Linked DNA regions of Homo sapiens: all the other regions are linked to region 2. Evidence: promoter capture Hi-C in 16 types of primary human blood cells and fetal thymus (Javierre and others, 2016). All regions are on one chromosome and are shown on one strand. The core of a region is centred on a gene start or on the middle of the fragment in contact, and the rest is flanking DNA. Distances in the headings are between cores, read along the strand shown.

Evidence for each region. The method cuts DNA at HindIII sites, captures the fragments that hold promoters and counts their contacts. A CHiCAGO score of 5 or more calls a contact.
Region 1: a contact is called between a fragment that was not itself captured here and the fragment with the promoter of ASB14 in region 2, in 2 of 17 cell types (M1 macrophages and M2 macrophages). The highest score is 8.8, in M1 macrophages.
Region 3: a contact is called between a fragment that was not itself captured here and the fragment with the promoter of ASB14 in region 2, in 1 of 17 cell types (M1 macrophages). The highest score is 5.0, in M1 macrophages.

What each region holds. Positions count from the first base shown.
Region 1 is chr3:57,516,025-57,519,099 of GRCh38, reverse strand. The region is part of intron 4 of DNAH12 (dynein axonemal heavy chain 12); the gene reads left to right. Among named protein-coding and RNA genes, the nearest start is that of DNAH12, 27 kb to the left of the region's middle. The HindIII fragment of the contact is 202 bases long and covers 1,598-1,799 here.
Region 2 is chr3:57,291,345-57,294,298 of GRCh38, reverse strand. ASB14 (ankyrin repeat and SOCS box containing 14) reads left to right here and starts at 1,614. Exons shown (of 11, transcript NM_001142733.3): 1 at 1,614-1,666; 2 at 2,195-2,387. The coding sequence starts at 2,266. It overlaps DNAH12 (dynein axonemal heavy chain 12), which reads left to right. Exons shown (of 74, transcript NM_001366028.2): 74 at 328-599. The coding sequence ends at 518. It overlaps LOC124909384 (a long non-coding RNA gene), which reads right to left and starts at 1,508. Exons shown (of 2, transcript XR_007095923.1): 1 at 907-1,508. The HindIII fragment of the contact is 5,614 bases long and covers 1-2,013 here.
Region 3 is chr3:57,120,970-57,124,117 of GRCh38, reverse strand. The region is part of intron 1 of IL17RD (interleukin 17 receptor D); the gene reads left to right. Among named protein-coding and RNA genes, the nearest start is that of IL17RD, 43 kb to the left of the region's middle. The HindIII fragment of the contact is 947 bases long and covers 956-1,902 here.

The DNA of each region.
Region 1 (3,075 bases), core at 449-2,948, 220 kb before region 2:
CCTATTAGGATGGCTGAAATAAAAATCAGTGACAATTTCAGCTGACTTTTGACACCACTGACCATTTATTTCCTTTCTAACATTCCTTTATGTTTATTCATCTGGTTCTCTATTATTTCTCTGTCATCTCCACAGGTTCCTCTTTCTTGACTGGCTGTAGCCACTCTTCTCTTTCCTTGAATCTCCATGGATGATTCTCTCCTTTTCTGATTTCAGCTACCTTTCATATATTGATGACTCCCAGAGACTTTTTTGCACAAATACCTCAGAATCAACGTGTCAAAAAAATGAGACCACAAGCTTCCTCCATAAGACTCCTCTTGCACATTTTCTATTCTAGTTGTTATCACCATCAATCCGGTTACTCATGCTTAAAATATCTGAATCTGAACTTCTTGTTCCCCTTCCCCAACTACCTCCCTCCCATATGCTTAGTTCCCAAGAGCTCTATATAGTTCTCAAAACAGTCATTTTCTTGTCCTAGCCTTAGATCAGAGCTTCATCTCTTATCTTGACCACAGCAGCCAACAGCAGCTTTTCTTTCTTTCTTTTCTTTTCTTTTCTTTTTTTTGAGACAGAGTAGTCTTGCTCTGTCACCCAGGCTGGAATCCAGTGGGGCAACCTAAGCTCACTGCACCCTCCACCTCCCGGCTTCAAGCAATTCTTGTGCCTCAGGCTCCCAAATAGCTGGGATTACAGGCACATGCCACCATGCCTGGCTAATTTTTTATATTTTTAGTAGAGACAGGGTTTCACCATGTTGGCCAAGCTGGTCTCAAACTCCTGACCTCCAGTGATCCACCTGCTTCAGCTTCCCAAAGTGCTGGGGTTACAGGTGTGAGCCACCGTGCCCGGCCAGGAATTGCTTCTTAATCAACTACTATGATATCGAGCACTAAAAATAGTTACTTAATGAATGATTGATGAATGAATAAATATAAAAACACATGTTCAGTAAAATGTAACAGCTGTTATAATAGAAGTGTGAAGAGACTACAGTGAGGGCATAATATAGAAAGTTTTTTTTTTTATGTTTTCTGTTTTTTGAGACAGTTTCTCACTCTGTCACCCAGGCTGGTGTGCAGGGGAGTGATCTTGGCTTACTGCAACATCTGCTTTCCAGGCTCAAGCAATCTCTTAGCCTCAGCCTCCCGAGGAGCTGGGACTACAGATGTGAGGCACCACGCTTGGATAATTTTTATTTATTTATTTATTGTAGAGGTGGGGTTTCCCCATGTTGCCCAGACTGGTCTCTCACTCCTGAGCTGAAAGGGATCCACCTGCTTCTACCTCGCAAAGTGCTGGGATTACAGGCATGAGCCACCGTGCTGGGCCAGGGAGTTTTCAAGAAAAATTTTGAAAGTACATCACTTGACTTAGATAGTGTTTTGCTAAGGAAGATTATATACTTTAATTCTAAGGGTCAAACATATTTTTATTTTAGGAGATGAAATGGTTTTAGAAAGGTATAAGTTATAGATACATAATTAGAATAATGAATTTAAATTTCATTTTTTCTTTCTTTTTTTCTGCAACAAAAACCACATTCAATAAATTTCCTTTCACTATATAGTCATATAATAATTTTATTCAAGCTTAGTTTTCTATCTAATATTTCAGTGCTTGACCCTGACCTGCTTTCTAGAACTGCTATAGGTTTGGGGTATTGAGAAAATATCATCTTTGTCTGTATAATTTATTTATTCATGAGATTCTTAACAAATATCTATGCATACTTGATCCTGTGCTAGATGCTGAAGATTGATGGACAAGATGGACATATAAGCCCTTATGAAGCTTATACTTTAATGAGGAAGACATATAATAATTAAATAAAATTTTTCTATTTCATTTAATAAATAAAATTGTGATAAGTACTGTGAAGGAAATACAGGGTAATATGGTAGATAGTGACTGGTGAGGGAGTGGGGCCATATTAGGCATGTGGTTAGAGAAGGCGTCCCTGAGGTGGTGACATTTATGGAGACCTGAATGGTAGAAAGGAGCCAGCCGTGGAAAGACCTGGGGTTGAGAATTTCCCAACAGAGGGAACAGCTAAGTTTAAGTCACCTGAAGGAGAAAACAACTGGGTATGTTCCAGGAACTGAAAGAAGGCCAGCTGCTGATTGAGCTCATGGGAAAGTATAAAATAAACTTGAAAAGGGGGTCAGGAGCCAGAGATGAGGGCCTTGTAGGCTATGATAAGTTGCTTGGATTTTACTCAGAGTGGCAATTGGAAGTCATTGGAGGATTCTACCCATGGGGATAACATAACTTGATTTACTTTTAATGATAAAAAGTCACTTTGACAATTATATGAAAAAGGCCACTTAGATTCTTTAGAAGATGGATTGTGGCTACGGCAAAAGTATAAAGGAAGAACCAGGTAGTTGTACAAGATAACAGTCTAGGTGAGAGAGAATAGTTTAGACTAGAGTGATAGCAATAGAGCTAGAGAGAAATTGTTAGATTCAGGACATATTTTGGATGTAAATGCGACAGGACTTGCAGGTAGGGTGCATGTGGGCAGTGAGAAAAAGAGGAACCAAGGATGATTCTTAGGCTTTGGTCTGATTTTGCAGGGTAATTGGCGACACTTATTATTAAGATCATCTAGAGAGGAGGGAAGAGCTGGAGTAGGGAGAGGACCAATTTCATTGCTAGACAGAGGTCAGCCCATTGATATAGTGAGGGACTGGGGACTATCACACAAGAATTTTAAGATTAGGCAGTACATGGGCCGGGCATGGTGGCTCATGCCTGTAATCCCAGCACTTTGGGAGGCCGAGTCGGATGGATCACAAGGTCAGGAGTTCGAGACCAGCCTGACCAACATGGTGAAACCCCATCTCTACTAAAAAGAAAAAAATTAGCCGGGCATGGTGGCCCACGCCTGTAATCCCAGCTACTCAGGAGGCTGAGGCAGGAACATCACTTGAACCCAAGAGGTGGAGGTTTCAGTGAGTCAAGATCATGCCATTGCACTCCAGCCTGGGCGACGGAGGGAGACTCCATCTGAAGAAAAAAAAAAAAAAAAAAAAAAAAAGACTAAGCAGTACATTAATGGAGTGGACA
Region 2 (2,954 bases), core at 365-2,864:
AGGCTGAGACAAGAGAATCGCTTGAACCTGGGAGGCAGAGGTTGCAGTGAGCCGAGATTGTGCCACTGTACTCCAGCCTAGGTGACAGAGTGAGACTCAGTCTCCAAAAAAAAAAAAAAAAAGAAAAGAAAAGAAATACTTGCCTTGTTTCACAACCGTAATACTATATGTACTGTAAAAAAATATATATGCTGTAAAACCTTCATATATCACAATTATGATCTTAGATTTAGTTCTGGCCATTTTATTACAAGATAAATAGTTCTTTTCGTACCAATGGCTGTTTTTCCCTTTATCAAGTGAATATATTTCTTTTTTTTTTTCAAGCTCAAAAATCTCGGATTATAAAGTCGGATGCCTATGTCTGTCCCCTCTACAAGACAAGTGAACGTAAAGGAACTCTTTCCACTACGGGACATTCTACTAACTTTGTCATTGCAATGTTGTTAAAAACAGACCAACCTACTCGGCACTGGATCAAGCGCGGGGTTGCTTTGCTTTGTCAGTTGGATGACTAAATTGGACAAATTTATAAAACATCCAAAAGTTTAAAAAAAAAAAAACCTGTCCTACTTAAAATATATACATTATAAAACCAAGTGTTTTGGTGTTATTCTTTTAAATGATCTTTGCAAACACTCATTGCATTGTTCTCCTTTCTGAGGAGAACTTTTTGAAGTTTGATTGTATGTGAAAAATAGATTTGGGGGTTAAACGGTAACATTTAACAAATATCAGGAATTATCTCCTTCACAAATGTTAAGTCATTCCTTCAGCTTCAGTATAGTTTACTTTCCACTCTCCTACCTAAAGTAATTATACATAAATATTTCAAATACATAAATTAAGAAATTATAAATATGGAAAATATTAAAAGTTACCCAACTATACCTCTTTATTTCTTACCTCTAAGACATCGGTTCCATTTCTCACTGCATCCTTGTGACTAGGAAAGGAAACTCAAAGCTGCGAAGTTGGCCTGCAAAGGCAGTAGGATGGCTTGAGGGCAGTCCGAACTTCTACACCTGCAGTGACAGTGTGCTTCTCGGCATTTGCTTCATATTTAATTTGAAATGTCAAGTGGTCCCTTTGCTTTTTTTAGTGTATATTAACAATTTAAAAATATTTCAACAAAACAGAATTTTGATCAAAATTTTATCTTGTGTAGAGTGAATTCTTCCCTTAGGATTCCAAGGACACTGAAGGCCACAGTTCTGTAACCCAAGGAAAATGTAGTCACAGCTACCTAGTGAATCTAGTACATTGGGACAGTCACTTTGGATAATTGGGTCAGAGCAAAATGTTTGGGTTCTCTTAAGTGAAAAATTGATTGTGGTTTGCAGTGGCTATGTGCATGAATTCTCTTTGCATGGCCAACCCCCTGCAAAAGCATTTTATTCCAGGAATAAAATATTTAATCCTTTAAATTTGATGAATGTAGCACTGAAGAAAAGAGATCATGTTTCCAAAAAGAGCTAAACCACATGTAAAAAACAAGGAGAATGTGCCAAACTGTCTTATGATGAAGTATTTATAGTAAAGCTATTAATGGAATGGTCACTACAGGGGAGAGGAGAGCCTAAATATAAATGAAAATTCTGAGGCTTACATGTGTTAGTCCTTAACAGTGAAAACTTCACTGCTGTCCTAGAGGATAAAACAAAAGGTAAAAAGTCTTTGAAATGTGACCAAATGTATTCTATGCTAAAACTGACATTTTTCTTTTAAAACCATTTAGATATTGCCTAGTAAGATACATTTGTTTTTACTACTGCTGTATCCATGTTGTAATTATGAGAATACATTTGTTCCTATAACATGTTTATTTTTAATGTATATTAAGTAAAATATTATTTTCAGCATCACACTGTGTGTAGGAAAGATATTATTTTGGATGAGTGCTACAATCACTGTGAAAGACTCACAGCCAAGTTGAACAGATCAGAGTGTTGTCAGTGTTAGAGTGGCACTAACCGAAGTCTTATTTGAAAGGTGGTTTTTCCTGAATAAGCTTTAAGTCAATGGCTACTCATGGAAACTTCTAATTTTTGTTGAATCTGTGGCAGTCCACAAAACTTTTTTAAGTTTATAGAAATTTTTTAGTGAATATTTTGTTTCCTAAATTTTGTATATTTTTCATTGTTAATCCTACCAATTTTCTAGATTTCTGAATTTCATTTGTAATTTTAAGCAGTTGATCTCTTCACAACTGGAAAAATACTTTTAATTCACTCTGACTTTAAAGTAAACCTGTCCACGTTTCACATGGATAATTACACCAGCGATGAAGACATAGATGAAGACTTTGACACCCAGCTCATCATTCAACAGAGTTTGCAGGATATTTATAAGCCAGGAACAGCACAACATGCACCTAAGGATGAGAGGTAATGGTTTTCTCATCGGCAATATAGTATTAAGTGTTGTATTCAACAGCTGACACTTGTCATTAGCTTAACTCTAGTGTTGTGACAAAAACAGGAGGGTCAGAATCCAAGGAGCTGTCAATTAAATATCTGTAAGATATTATGCCTAACTAGACAGGAATAATCTGGAAATAATTCAGAATTTAATTAGGCAATAAAAATATCTGAAGGAGGTTAGCAGCAAATCTGGGTGAGGTGATACAGACTGGAAATCAGAAGAAAGAAAGGAGGATATGAAGGGCTAGAGAAAAACTAATACATCTTGTCTTTGGGAATTGAAGAAATGCATAAATCCAACCGGGACACATAGAAAGTTAGTTATCTTCAACCTTAGTAGGGTAGGTGGGGATGGGGTCCAGTCTTTGATCTACTCAAATCAAAAGGAGGAATTACATAAACTTGAACAAGGCTTCTGAAAGTGTAGATTCAGAGTTTTGTTGGACAACACTGAAAAAGGACCAGTGGGACCCTGTGTGGGGTGTAAGAAGAATCGTCCTGGATATGGCACACCTGCTCACACGCTCGCTG
Region 3 (3,148 bases), core at 180-2,679, 170 kb after region 2:
TGATGCATGTGCTGAGAAGCTGTGCACTTGAGGAATTCCAGGAATGAAAGGTTTTTGTTTGTTTGTTTGTTTGAGATGGAGTTTTGTTCTTGTCACCCAGGATGGAGTACGATGGCGCGATCTCGGCTCACTGCAACCTCCGCCTCCCGGGTTCAAGCGATTCTCCCGCCTCAGCCTCCCAAGTAGCTGGGATTACAGGTGCCCGCCATTACACCCAGTTAATTTTTTGTATTTTTAGTAGAGATGGGGTTTCACCATGTTGGTCAGGCTGGTCTCAAACTCCTGACTTCAGGTGATCCACCTGCCTCGGCCTCCCAAAGTGCTGAGATTACAGGTGTGAGCCACCACGCGCAGCCAAAAGGTCTTTAAAATGCATGTAAGAACTAATACCTGGGATGTTTTCTCCTGCTTCTGAGCTCCATGACCCGGCGTGGATGGCCACGGGGTCTTATGATCTCTGATTTTCTGTGGAATTGGAACTACCATTTTGCATCTACATCCCTAAAAGTGCCATGCTACTCAAATTGTGGGAATGAATTACCATGTTCCCCTCAAGTGAGTAGCAGTCAGACCGATGTGTCAGGAACACACAGTGTGATGCGGCAAGCAGCCCACCAGGGGAGGGGACCTGGGTGATAGGAAGAGAAGAGGAGGGGATTCTGAGAATGCAGGCATGCCCAAGGACATTTTCCGAGCAGAACTGCAGTGCCCAAAGGGTTTAGAAGGTGCAAGAGGGAGTGACTGGGAAGGTAGGCAGGTGTCACATCAGGAATGATCTGGAGGGACAGGGAGCCAGTGAAGGGCTCAAAGCAGGGGAGCGAGGGCAGATATGCACGTGGCCAGAGCCCCTTGAGGTCAAGACCTGGGTCTGCTTCATAGCTGAGTGCCCAGCCTTGTGAGTCTTAGGCCAAGGTGGAATGCTCAGCAGAGAGTGAATGGATGCCACAGGTAAGCTTCACTTTCCTTCCAGGCCTGCCTCACTGGACCCCCCTCTGAACAGTTCCACACACATCACAGAGACTTTATTTGGAGGGATTTAGGTTCTTGAATGCATGGCATAGCACACCTCACTGTCTTGGGCTCCTTTCCACAATGCATTGGCCATTGCCCAATAAGTACCTGCAAATAACATGTTGCAATAGGAATAAGAGGAAACAAACAAACAAATATAAGGGAACTGGAACAAAAAAAAAAGCTACATCTGACAAGTAAGGTGATTGGTCGCCAGGGTCCCTATGCACTAGGGAGCATATTGTTAGATGGAATGTGTTTCCTTTTTGCGAAGTCCCTCCTGTACCCGGCTTCATTTGATCTTCCTCAAAACCACCTCCTAGAGGAAAGCCATGTAAATTCTTTAAAAAAAAAAAAAAAAAAAAAGACAGTTGAGGAGACCCAGACCCAGTGGTGTAGAGCAGCGGTCCCCAACCTTTTTAGCACCAGGGACTAGTTTCGTGGAAGACAATTTTTCCATGCACTGGGGGGTCAGTAGGGGATGGTTTCGGGATCAGACTGTTCCACCTCAGATCATCAGGCATTAGTTAGATTCTCATAAGGAGCACAGAGCCTAGATCCCTCGTATGCACAGTTCACAATAGGGTTTGTGCTCCTATAAGAATCCAGTGCCACTGCTGATCTGACAGGAGTCGGAGCTCAGGTGGTAATGCTCTCCCACTGCCCACCTGCTGCGCGGCCTGGCTCCTAACAGGCCATGGACCAGGACCAGTCCAGGGCCCGGGGGTTGGGGACCCCTAGAGTAGAGTGGTTTGCCATCGGGCATCCGGTGGAGGATGGGAGGATTGAGGTACTAACCTTGGCTTCTAGATTATAGTTTTCTTTTCCTCCCATGATGTTACTCTGCTTTCCTCTTCATTCTAGCCCAGTTATCCTTCTCCTTGTTAAGCTTCTGGAATCTGTTATCTTACCCATCCTTCATTCATCCTTACTCAAGGGCTGTCTTGTGGCATTTCATACACTGTACTTACTTATGCCAGGCTCTTTCACCCTTGCTATATATACCTTGTTTTGCCATCTAAACTGGGCATTCTTGGAGGGCCAGGGTGTGATTTGAAATTTATCTGCATGCCTAGGACATAATCTACCTACCCAGTTAATCTTCTTTGAAATAATGAACCCCATGTTAATTCATTTCATGAGGGCGGGGACAGTGGCTGTTTTGTTTGCCAGCATAGCTAGCATAATGTCTGGCTCCTAATAGATGGGGAGTGAGTTTATGTCTTGGGGGCTTATAAGAGCACAGAACAGTGTGATTTGGGGATCTTGGGCTTTGGTCTTGGGGGATTGGATTGTCTCGTTCCTGGTCTCCTACCTGGTTGTGTTACTGTGGTGTCTGCCATCTGCAGGTTGAGCAGCCTTTAGTTGCACAAACTGTGGTCTTGTCCCTAAGCAGTTGTAGACACTCTTAGGATTTTAATAAGTTCACAACACTTTCCAAAGTGTTTTAGTTCAGGTGAGGAGTTCTGGAATCTTGTATATGTGGGGAAGAGAGGCTAGAAGGAGGAAAGCTGGAGAAGGAAGGTGAACTATGAAGAAGGGGAGCTTCAGTAGATTGTGGGCTGGTGTGTCATGTGGATTTAGGTTTTCTGTTACTTATTCCTCACCTTAGAGTGGGGGGTGGGTGGTGTGTCCATGTGCCCCTCTCTGCCCAATTGTGCTTTCCCAAGGCCCATGTATATCTGAGTTCAGGGATACACTTTCAGTGGGTGTGCCTGGCTTCAGGATAAGCAGCGTGAAGATGCCTGTGGCATATGGATGTCATGTGGTTGTGGCTGAAAACCCTGGGCTCCATCAGAAGTGTTCTCCACATTTTGTTTTGGTGTAACAATTACCCATTAAATGCCAGGCTGCCCGCATATGGTTCCCTCCAACATCCTTCTTGTTGAGTGGAAACTTCAGGTGTGTGGCTGGAATATTTTCCCATCATTTAGCATTTCAGAATTAACATATTTTGGAGAATTCTGTGATTAATGCTGAACGGCACATTTGCAGAGTATTACAGAAACAGTTAAATTGGAGTTGGTAGATCTGTAGCTGCTCTTTCTCATGATGCATAAGTGGTGGAAAAGGCGGGGTCAACGGGAGGATTCCGGGGCTCACTCTGTGGATGCTATAATTAAAGTGGGAAGTCTGG